Regions from separate parts of the Homo sapiens genome. Here region 1 is linked to region 2. Evidence: promoter capture Hi-C in human tissues and cell types (Jung and others, 2019). All regions are on one chromosome and are shown on one strand. Each heading gives the region's core, a stretch centred on a gene start or on the middle of the fragment in contact. The rest is flanking DNA. Distances are from core to core; before and after follow the strand shown. Region 1 overlaps MTUS1 (microtubule associated scaffold protein 1). Region 2 holds the start of MTMR7 (myotubularin related protein 7).

Region 1 (5,853 bases), core at 15-2,514, 280 kb after region 2:
AGGAAAGATAACCTCGATCCAACAACACGCTTTGCCAGTGATGGATACCACCCAGTAATAATATATCAGAGTGCCCAGTGCCCTCTGCGTGGGATCAATGAGAAAGCTTATTCTGGCCGGATCTCTACAATGACCAGCCCCCGTCCCACCACATTCTATGCTCAGAAATACTACAACTCCTTTGTTTCCTTGAAGGAGCCCTTCCTCAAGCCCCTCAAGGTTTTTACATGCTGTTTTCTCTGTCGGAAACACTTTGTTTCTTAGTAAATTCTCCATTTCCTGAGGACCCAACTTAAAAGGCACTTCTACTGGAGGACCTGGATTAAAGGTACCTCCACCTGCTGAGAGCTGCTTGGGCACAAGTCCACACCCTGCATTATTAACTGGTGCTCTGTCTCCTTCTGTTAAACAGTGGGCTGTGTGAAGGCAGGGTCCATGTGGGACTTAGTCCCAGTCATACTTTCAGCACCTACCATTATGCCTGGTACACAGTACTCATCTAACGGGTACTTCTTTATGAAACGAATGAATTAATCTGTAATGTGAAAGACAGTCTAGAAGCAAGGGAAAGGCTGGAGGCACAGACCAAATACTAAGCTCTTCAGAAAGCCCAGTCAACATCTTAGGCTGGATTATACAAAACTGTTCCTATTTGGCTACTTTTGACTTATTATACAAAAGTGTTCATATTTGGCCACTTTTTACCTATTAATTTTTTGTGTGTGGTTTTTTAAATAGAGACAGGGTCTCATTAACTCTCCAGGGCTGGTCTCAAACTCCTAGCCTTAAGTGATTCTCTTCCCTTGGCCTCCCAAAGTACTGGGATTATAGGTGTGAGCCAGTGGCACCAGCCAGGAAGAGCAGTTTCAATGCTTCAACATGATAATGCCTGGACTAGGGTAATGGCAGGTGGTAAAAACAAATCAAGATTTCAAATGATGGAGTCTTAGAGTTTTCAACCAATTGATTGTGGATAAATCAGGACAAGTAATGATTCAAAGGTGAGGTTTGGCCAGACGTGGTAGCTCATGTCTGTAATCCCAGCACTTTGGGAGGCTGAGGCAGGCGAATTGCCTGAGGTCAGGAGTTCCAGACCAGTATGGCCAACATGGTGAAACCCCATCTCTATTAAAAATACAAAGAAATTAGCCGGGTATGGTGGTGGGCACCTGTAATCCCAGCTACTCGGGAGGCTGAGGCAGCAGAATTGCTTGAACCTGGGAGGCGGAGGTTGCAGTGGGCCCAGACAGCACCAGTGCACTCCAGCCTAGGCAACAGAGCGAGACTCCATCTAAAACAAAGCAACAAAAAAACAACAAAAACCAAAGGTGGGGTTTGATGACCAGACACATGGTGTCATGAAAAGAAACAGATAATTCATGAGTATTAACTGAATTTAGGAGGTAAAAAAATAAGGAGACAAATCATTTAGATAAGATGAATTTCCAAGCAGAGTAATACACTGAGGGTTTTCAAATCTTCAGCCAGAAATTCACAGATTTGGAGGCTAAGGGGAACCTGGAAGTCATCTCTTGTGGTTCCCTTATTTTGTAGCCGTGTGAGGTTAGGTGCACAGGGCTATTCACTTGGTCACCAGCAGAATCAAGGCTACAATCCAGGCCTCTTGGGATCCAGGTCAACACCACTGCACTGAGGCAACCAACACCACTTCCTTCACTAAGGATACCAACCCAAGTTACTGCTGACAGTCCATTCAGATAAGAGTCACCATGACGGCATGAATTACCCACTTGACGGACGATTTCTCGGACGTTAAAATGACATAACATGGATAAGCCCATCAAAGACTGATATTGGGAGTAAGCAGAATTATATTCCTTACATGATTTTAAAAAGCCTCCAACACACAAAACGCTTCCTCCATCCCTGCTATTCCTTGGATCTAACAAAATTACAGCAAAATTTGCAGCTGGAAAATATGTACGCCAAAAATTCTAAATAGAAGTCCCAGGTTTTAGTCCTATCTCTGGCACTTACTGTGTGCCTCTGGGCAAGCGAATTCACTTCTCTGGGCCTCAGACTTCCTGGTATAAGACAGATTAGATCACCTCTATGTGAACTCTAGCTCAAAAAATTATGACTGCAAATAAACAGAAAATAGTTTTACGTAAGTTTAGAAAATAAAATGTGTCCAATACATCACTATCAACTAAACCCTGGTAATAGAAGCCTTGTGTCGTTTGCTTACGCTGTCTTGGAAAGCTATCTGCTTCACAACAACACTACAGACAACTTAGAATGTCTACTACTAGAGCACTGGTTAAGTAAATCATGACTTACCCAATAATGGAATGTTACAGAACTATTTTTTTTAATGAGGTAGATAAACATGTGATCACATGCAAATCTAAAACACATTAACTTTAAAAAGGTATAGAATATATAGTACGCTTTTATTTCTGTATAACAAAAAAGAATAAAAAAGACCTGCATAGATTTACATGTGACTGGAAACGTGCAAGAACACTATGCAAGCAGCTGAGAGCGGCTGTCTCCACGGAGAGCAGACAGGGACTCTGGGTAAGAGAGAGGCTTGCCTAGGACTGCACAACCTTCCATACTGTTTGATTTTTAACTTGGAGCGTGGATTACAGTATTTTTAAAAGAACTCTTTAAAATTAAAAGCTATTTGGAGCTACTTTAGATCAGACAAATTATTGCAAATATAGGGCACCCTTTGTTATTTTTCCCCCCTATTAATTTGTTCAGTTGGAAGGGCTGCAGCGGCCCTGAGCTGGGAGAGGAGGGCCACTGCTGACCTCCTCCTCGCTGCCTCCCCCCATTTACCGTCAGCTCAGACTGAAAGGGAGAGGCTGGCAAAATCAAATGACAGGTCAAGGGGAGTTATGAAACACGAGAGAGAGGTGCTGGAAAAAATGAGAATTCTCCCACAGAGAAGGGAGATGCCTCTGGGAAAACTAAAAATAGTCAGCTGAAAACAAATCACCAGGGACAGAGATGAGCCACGTGGAAAATAAGAAACACGAGGGGTCACGTGCACATGAAGCAGAAACAAAAATCTATTTACATCCTCATCAAACATTCCTGTGACACCTAACGCTATTCAGCCCAAAACAAATATAAAAACACCCCAGCTAACATATTTTACAGAATAAAACTGATTTAATTTACTGTAGCTGTAAAATCATCTAGGACAAAAGTAGCAACATAGGCCAACCCAATGCCCTAAAAGTGAGCAGACAGGTCACCACGTGCCTAAAATATATACTAAATTTATTTTCATCTTAGGCACCGAAAATAATAAGCAGATACAAACATAAACCTCAGGGGAAGTATTTTGAGACTGCACACACTTTTATTATGAAGATTGGAAAACTAGATTTGTGATTCACTTACTACTTCCCCATAACCATTAGGATGTTTTCTGTCAGAAGTGTTTAGTATACAGAAATCTTTTAGCATATTAAAATTAACTGTCAAATCTGACTGAGAAACTATCCAATGAAAAACGATGGGAACCTTCTCATCTACACAGGCGAACAGGAAATATTCTTCTAAATTTACCTGTGTCCTATTTCCCAAACACTGGAACTAAAATATAATTTAACAGGTGCTGATTTTCACACATTTGGCTGGTGATGGAGAAAAGAGCTAGGGAACACCAAGGCAACAATTCTGCCTTCCATCAACACAAACAACACAATCTGCTGCCAAAAGTAAAAGTACTATGCACTTGTGCTGAAGCAACAGAAAACAATTTTTAAATTAAGCCTCATCTCTCATTAGAGAGAGCTTTTTTCCTCCAATTATCTGTCTCCTTGGAAAAACCTCTGATAAACATCTGCAAATTAATGAAGACATCCCCCGTGCAACACTAAACAGAGATCTATGCGAGACAGACCTGTGTGGAAAACAACAGTGCTTCTCCTAAACCCTGAAGGAAGTCGAAGGTTTCGAAGCAATCCTTTGGCCGTCAGTCGTATGTGAATGGTGGATAAGGAGAATTTGGGAGACAACAACATGTCTTCGGAGCAGGTGGCGAGATTTCACAGAAGAGGCAATTTCCATGGACTGTCACATACTGTCTTTTTAAACTCAGTACTCTTCAAGGCCAAGAAATACAGTCAGAGGAAAGATGCCTACACAGCAAATGTCATTCCACCAGAGAGGCATAGAAGAAAAAAATCCCCCAGGGCTGGCCAAGTGTTTCTGGCTTCCGTTTTCACTTTCAGATGTTGCCAAAATGATGCTCTTCCTCTGAATACAATCTCCCTCCTGCAGGTCTAGAAGCTGCCTCTGAACCACATCACACTGTGCATGCTTGTGGAGTTGTTATGGTTTTCATCCGAGATGGTAAAGGGGAGGAGAAAGTGGGTGGTCTCAGGAGCTTTACAGAACAACCAATAATGTCACAGATCCTGTAACCACTTGAAAGATCGCTAGGGGAAATTAACTACTTCAAGTGCCTAATGTTTCTTTCATAATTAGAAAAAAATTAGGATTTCCTGAAAGTAAACTGTGTCCTGATTTTAACATTTTTCACTCCTTATATTCACAATGATAACATGAGCATTTTTTCTCTAGATATTTTACATGTAAACTACATTTAAACCTGGTATTTTGGAAAAGTTTTTTTTTTAAAGACTTCAGGCAATAAATGTTCTCAACTACAATATTTAAGAAAATTTCTATTCTAATATATTAATGACAGATTGTCAAAAGGTTAAAGTTCAACTTTAATTCCCACATGCTGAGGACCTCACAAATAATCAACAGTAAAAGATTAATACGGTTTCTCTATCAGATGTAATATCAGAGTTCCAGAAGAATAGTCCATCAGATAGGCATATTCTAAAGACTACATTTATTGCATGAGTAATTGCATTTATAGAACATCATGTGGTCTCTTATAGTGGTCTTTCAAGACTAGGAGTGTGAGGAGGGCACAGTTATGAATATCTTTTGCCAGTTATCTACTAATTTTTATTTCAGTAGAGTGGCTTGTAAAAGTATGTTAAAACATGATAGCAAAACCAAAAGAACTTGAAAAACAAAGATATGGTTATAAGAATTAACAACAACAATATGCCCACTTAAGCTAATTCCATTAAACCACGAATAGCCTGAGCTCTTAACATTTTTAAAAATGTTATAAACAAAACAATGTTTTAAAAATGTCCTATGCCTGTTTCCAAGATTTCCTAGAAAATAAGACTCAGAAATAAATGCAGAATTGTTACCATAAATAACACTATTAAGTGCTATTAAAACTAGCAGGAAGCAGTTCTTTTAGAAATTCTATAGAGTAGGGTATGAAGCAGGGAAGAGAGAGGGAGGAAGAGAAAATTTAAATAAGTTCTCTTCCCTCAAGCCCCCTCCCTCTTCACTCAAGCCCCCAACTTGCCATTTTAGAGGTTGTCAGCAAGAGAGACAGACCCAATAACCTGTCCAGGGTTCCTGTGAGAAAGATACACCTAGTTCATACACTGACGAAAAACCTGCTACATACATTGCACCACAGCAACTGAAGCTAAATGATCAAGGAATTAAAATCAAGGCCAGCTGCTTCTAGGTGTTGCCTTTTACTTCATCCCAGTTTATTATTAAAAAACCTGAACACCTTTTCCTTCCAGATTCTACATACTAAAAATATACCAGAACCTTTTCCTCTACCTCCCAAAACCTTGTAAAAACCAAGAAACCAATCAGCATTAAAAACAAACAGAAGAACAGAGTCAAATTTTGCCATGATTAAAAACAGACATGCCACCACTCCATATAGTAGGAGGTGGTTTTTCTTTCTTTTGGTTGTGTTTGTTGTTTCTTCAGTAACAGCAAATTCTAAATTATCCTTTTTTGTTTGTTTTTGTT
Region 2 (6,112 bases), core at 837-3,336:
AATGCTCCTAGTCCTCCTTAAGTCCTTCCATGTTAAGACGGCTCTTCTAAGAAGGCTTCCCTTGACCTTGAGGGCAGAGCTGATCCTCTCTTCAGTCTCCCTCTCTACCCACTGCACCTTGCACATGTCTCTATCATACACTGACATATTTACAACTGCCTCCCCTTAGAGATTGTGAGTTCCTGGACGCTTCCAGCACTTAACACAGAGCCTGGCACATGAAAGGTTCTAAATGCTTGTAGAATAAAATAAATGAATAAATGAATCCGATCCATCCAACCTCTGTAATTTCTTATTTTTTTCACCAGCTTTATCCCAAATGTTAATGACTCACCCAATTCAGTAACACTTCAGACAATTTTCCATTTTCCCCCAATTTGTTTCCATTTCCAGATAAATAAGGATTTCTGACTTCAAGTACTGCACTGCTTAGAGGGTATCCATAAACACCAATTTTAAGAGTAAGAACACTGCTTGCAACTCAGGTTCACACGTGACTTTGTACCAGGTGGCTTTGTATATAGAACAGAAAAGGCCTTGACTCCCCCAAATTCATATTCTCTAACAAAGTGGCATCCACTGCCATGTCACTGTATCATTCTTGCTATCAATATCCACAACAGCTATCACTTTTACAAACGGCTCCCTTCATCATGGAAGGAGGAAGAATGCCCTTGGCAAGGGCAGAGTCCATGAGTTAAATTCACCCTTCTGGAATAAATTATTTAGTACCACTTAAACTCTGAAAGCTTTGAGCCACCTATTCTGTGGTTTGTAGCATTGTCTTCTAAGTTTACAATTTCATGATTGTGAAGCGACAACTTAATTCCCTAGTGCAAAATCAATACAATTTAAATTTACTGTCGGAACTGACATTCTCCAGCAAACTAAAAGATTTCTTCTTCCAATGACATGAGATCATTTTAATCTGCTTTTACAAAAAGGTACTCAGGAACTATTCCAAAATTTAGGAATCAATTCTTGCTGGCCATAAAGCAATTGCCCCCACCCCTCTTAAATGTGTGGGATCCCTGGAACCACCTGAGCTATGGCCACTCTGACCTAGCTTTGACCTGTCAGGGGCCTACATTTTGAATGGAAGTTCATCCTGCAAAAACGCAAGGAGCTGTGGTGGTAGTAACAACAGACAGCCAATAGGGTTTTTAAGCATATTCTTTCACTCGTTTAGGGTTTTTATCATGCAGTAACGTCGATCATCATTTTCATTCTAAATTAGATTATCAGTACAACTGAGGAGGAAGATTTGGTACAGCGATCAACGTTTCCAATGTTAATTTACTGGAGTGATCAGGGACCATTTGCTTTTGTTAATTAGCAAAAGCTGGTGTTGTTAAAACACAACAGTGCGTGACGAATCCGTAAGCTGCATCCTTTTCTCTAACGAACAAAACGGACTGGAAAAGGCAAGAACACACCATCATTCAACCTACAATGAATATTGATTATCCGTTCTGTGTAAGGCCCCTTGCAGCTGCTACGCTCAGGATGAGGATGCTGACTGGGAAGGCCGAGCCGGGTGGGCCTGACACCCTAGATTTAACAAGCTTCCAAGCGCAGGAGTCCCTCTGCATTTAGCTCGTTTTCCTTGCACCTGTCACCGAAAGGCTTATTTCCCTTTCAACTACTCTGAGCGGCCAACAGCTAAAAGAGAAAGCCTCGTGCCAGGAGAAAGAAGGGTTGATCTACACCCAGTTACTAGCAGACAACTGAGGTTCCCTCCCGTTCACCCTTGTGTCCACTGCGCTCCCCCAAAACCAAGAGGTCAGACCCAGCAGCAGCTAAGGCTAGGCCTGGGAGGCAGCAAGAGAACGACCGGGCTCGCAGGCACCCCGGGATGCTCAGGCAATGCCTGCTCCTCCCTCGCCCGCGGTCCAGGCTCCGCCGGTGCCCCTCAAAGCAGTCGGCCTCCCGCGCGCTCAGCATCCCTCCTCCTCCTCCCCCATCTCCTCCCGTCCCTCCTCCGCCCGCGCTGGTGTCACCAACCTTGGGCGTACGGATGTGCTCCATGGCTGGCCCACGTCTGCAGGGTCCCGGGCGGGCGCGGCCTCACGCACCTGCGCGCCTCTGCGGCGCGATGGGAGGGGCGCGGGGAGGGGGCTTCGCGCCCGGGAGTGGGCGGGACGCGGTCTTGGCTCCGCCCCCAGGTGTTCCGCGCGCGGCGTGCGGACCCGGGGCTCCCGCGCGGCCCTAGAGAGCCCACCTCCGCGCCTGCGCCCACCTGCGCCGCCGCCGCGACGCGCCTCTGCCTGGGGTTGCCGGGGCGAGGGCTGCTCGCTCTCTCTTAACAGGGGCAGCCGGCGGAGCACTATACGGCCACTGTTCTCCGAGACACAAAGAGGGCCTTGTTTTGGGTGTGGCCTCCTGGAAGAGAGATGGGGAGTACAGGCTGCTCCACACCGTCCCTGGGCTTCCTTCTAGGGCGTCCTGGGATAGCTAGGATTTCAGGGTGGGGCAGAAAAGAAGGCTGCCACAGACACTCTAGACCCAGGACGGTCTTGTAGGCTCAATGTGTGTGTTTCATCCCAGGCGCGGCCGGCATAGCGCTCGGGGTGCGGGTGGAAATAATAGCAGCAGTGTTAGCGCCTTGGTAAGCGCGCTCCTAAGTCAGGCATCTCACATCCACCTGCGACTTCACTGTTGCAGGCGACACTTTTCCCCTGGCACAGTGTTGGGTGCTCATTTGCCCTCTTTATTTAGCTCCAACTGAACTGAGAGATAGAGATACAAAGCATCCATTATGCGGTACCATTTCCCTATTGATGGTATTAACAGTAGTTGGTGCCATTGTTAGCGTTAGGCCTCTTGGGAAAAGCCAAAGAGAGGAAGAACGCCCTCCATTTTTTTTTTCTTGCAGCCCTAAGAGTACAATGCTCCACCATAAGTGAAATTTTATAGAATTCTACATAGTTCTGTTCAATTTTTTCCTCGCTCTTACTCATCTTTCAGGCTGGATTGTGATTTTTTTTTTTTTTCCGTAGAGACTCTGCTTACCGTTTTTTTATCTAATACCTGGACACATTGCAGCCTTCCAGCAAATAATTAATACGGTGTTGAATTTATTTTTAAAATTCCAGATCCCTCTTTCACAGGTCTTCTACCATTTCATCCTCCTACTGCTTTGGGAGGCAATTAGAACAAGTTTACCATTAGTTTACATTATTAGAAGAACTACTCTGGAAAGCCACAGCTGATTCTTTTGGAAGTGAAAAGAACACTTTCGTTGTTGTTGTCACATAAAGCCACTGAACTTTAACGCTGAATTGAGCCTAGCCTATACTATGTTGAAGTGGAAAGGGAATTTGAGAGTCAAAATAATGCACTGTCTCTACCTTTGTGTTTGTGATTTTTTTAAAGAGGGAGTTGGTAATGCCTTTAAAGATCTCTAGGGACACCTAACCATAAGCAAGACCTAAACTACTTGATTGCAAGTTACCAAACGTCTTCTAGAGAATTCTTCTTATGCAACTTTTATCACATAGATAATTCAGTTGCAAATACTTTTGCTAACAGAATTTTAAAATACAACCTTGATTTTAACTGGGCATTTTCCCAAAATCCTGTGATATTCAATGGCCTGAGGAGATTTGAATTCTTATCAAAAACACTTGCAAGACTTTTTCCAGAATACTTATATTTCTCTTGAGGCAAGGCAAACTTCTGATTTGGCAGTGAGACCAAACCCTGTTTCCTTAGGGATGGTATTGCTAATTATTACAAACTCAATACGATCCTATTCAGCGTAATTAAACCCAAATGGACCATATTATAAGTGGAGGAGGGAACACATCTCTGAATAAACTCAGCCTCATCTGGAGTCACTCAGTATGATAGGGTCAGAGCTGCATTTGGGGTTCTGCCTGGCAAAAAGTAAAAGCGGCCTCTCTTCAGGATTTTTATGAACTCAATGATGCAATGTATCAATGTCTCTGTTGGCCTTGCCCTATAACAAAGATGTGGAGGAAAAGCACTCAGTGGATTGCAGTCAGCTCTGCCCTTTTTCTAGCAGCCAAAAGGGAAATTCTAGGGCAGCATGAAAAGAGTGTTTACTCTGTGAACAGTCAAGGCTTTAAAATAGCCTCCTCCCAAAACTGTGAAACTGCTGGAATAAAACATAGGGGAAACTCTTCAAGACATTGGTCTTGGCGAGGATTTTTGGGATAAGAACTCAAAAGCATAGGCAGCAAAGGCAGAAAGAGACAAATGGGATTACATTAAATTTAAAAGCTTCTATACAATAAAGGAAACGACAGAGTAAAGAGACAGCCTACACAAGGGGAGAAAATATTTGCAAACTACGCATTTGCCAAGGGGTTAATATCCAGAATATAAAAGGAATTCAAACAACTCAACAGCAGAAAAACCAAATAGTCTGATTTAAAAATGGGCAAAAAAAACTGAACAGAGATTTCTCAATATGAGACCTACAAATGACTAACAGGTCTATGAAAAAATACTCAGTATCACTAATGATTAGGAAAATGCAAATCAAAACCACAGTGAGCTATCACCTCACCCCAATTAGACTGACTATGATCAAAAAGACTAACAATAACTAATGCTGGCAAGGAGGCAAAGAAATGGGAACCCTTATGCACTGTTGGCAGGACTGTAAATTAGTACAGCCATTATAGAAAACAGTATAGAGCTTCCTCAAAAAATGAAAAATAGAGCTACCGTACGATCCAGCAATCTCACCAGTGGGTATTTATCCAAAGGAAATGAAATCACTATGTTGAAGAAATATCTGCACTCCCATGTTTATTGCAGCACTATTCACAATGGCCAAATATGAAATCAACCTAACTGTCCATCAATGGATGAATAGATAAAGAACATTTTGTAGAGATACATAGTGTAATACTATCCAGCCACAAAGAATGAAACCCTGTCATTTGTGACAATATGGATGAACCTTGAGGACATTATAAGTGAAATAAGCAAGGCACAGAAAGACCCATACCGTGTGATCCCACTCATTTGTGGAATCTTAAAAAGCTGATCTCATGGGCGTCCAGAGTAAAATACTGGCTACCAGAGGCTAGGGAAAATCGGGGAGAGGTGGGTATGTGAAGAGATGGGTCAGTGAGTACAAAATTACAGTTAGATGGAAAGAATAAGTTCTGGTGTTTTATTCCATAGTATGGTGACTATAGTTAACAATATTTTATTGTATATCTGAAAATAACTAGAAAAGAGGACTTTGAATGTTCTCACCACAAAGAAATGATCAATGTTTGAGGTGATGGATATGCTAATTACCCTGATTAGCTCATTACACAGTGTATATGTGTATCAAAATATCACACTGTATCCCATAAATATGTGCAATTATATGTTGATTACATATAAGAATAAAACCTTTTATAATAAAATATTTTAACATTTAAAAATAATTAAAACAGCAAAGTAGTCTCCTGTATTTTGTTCTGCCTTCAGGAAGGCATACAACTCAAGTTCAAGACTGTGTCTTCAGAACACTTATTTCATTTCCTTTTTTTTTTTTTTTTTTTTTTTTTTTTTTTTGAGATGAATCTCACTGTTGCCCAGGCTAGAGTGCAGGGGCACAATGTCATCTTACTGCAAACTCTGCCTCTCAGGTTCAAGCAATTCTGTGCCTCAGCTTCCCGAGTAGCTGGATTACAGGCATCTGCCACCATGCCTAGCTAATCTTTGTATTTTTTAGTAGAGACAGGTTTACACCATGTTGGCCAGGCTGGTCTCGAACTGCTGACCTCAAGTGATCCACCCACCTCGGCCTCTCAAAGTGCTGGGATTGCAGGCGTGAGTCACCACATGCACCCAGGACACTTATTTTCTTATTCCCTTCCCACTTCTATCCTTTCAACCATCACTTGGATGCAGATAATTCCTGTATCAGTATTTCCAGTCCTGGATTCTCTTCCTACAAGCCATATTATATTTCTGTCTACCTGCTGAGTACCTCTACTTGGATGTCCCATCAATAACCCTAATGTCACAAACCAGATAAAGTGAAAAACATGGGTTCTGAAGGCAGAAAGACCTATATTCAAATCACGACTCTGGCACGTGTTAGCTGTGTGACCTGAACCAAGTTATTTAACCACTCTCA

The links. The method cuts DNA at HindIII sites, captures the fragments that hold promoters and counts their contacts. A contact is called where the count stands out against the background at its distance.
Region 1: a fragment that was not itself captured here is called in contact with the fragment with the promoter of MTMR7 in region 2 in 2 of the 25 tissues and cell types used here (dorsolateral prefrontal cortex and hippocampus).

The regions. Positions count from the first base shown.
Region 1 is chr8:17,693,374-17,699,226 of GRCh38, forward strand. All of the region lies in intron 6 of MTUS1 (microtubule associated scaffold protein 1), which reads right to left. Among named protein-coding and RNA genes, the nearest start is that of MIR548V, 15 kb to the left of the region's middle. The HindIII fragment of the contact is 6,124 bases long and covers 1-4,326 here.
Region 2 is chr8:17,411,265-17,417,376 of GRCh38, forward strand. MTMR7 (myotubularin related protein 7) reads right to left here and starts at 2,087. Exons shown (of 14, transcript NM_004686.5): 1 at 2,005-2,087. The coding sequence starts at 2,028. The HindIII fragment of the contact is 4,025 bases long and covers 1,158-5,182 here.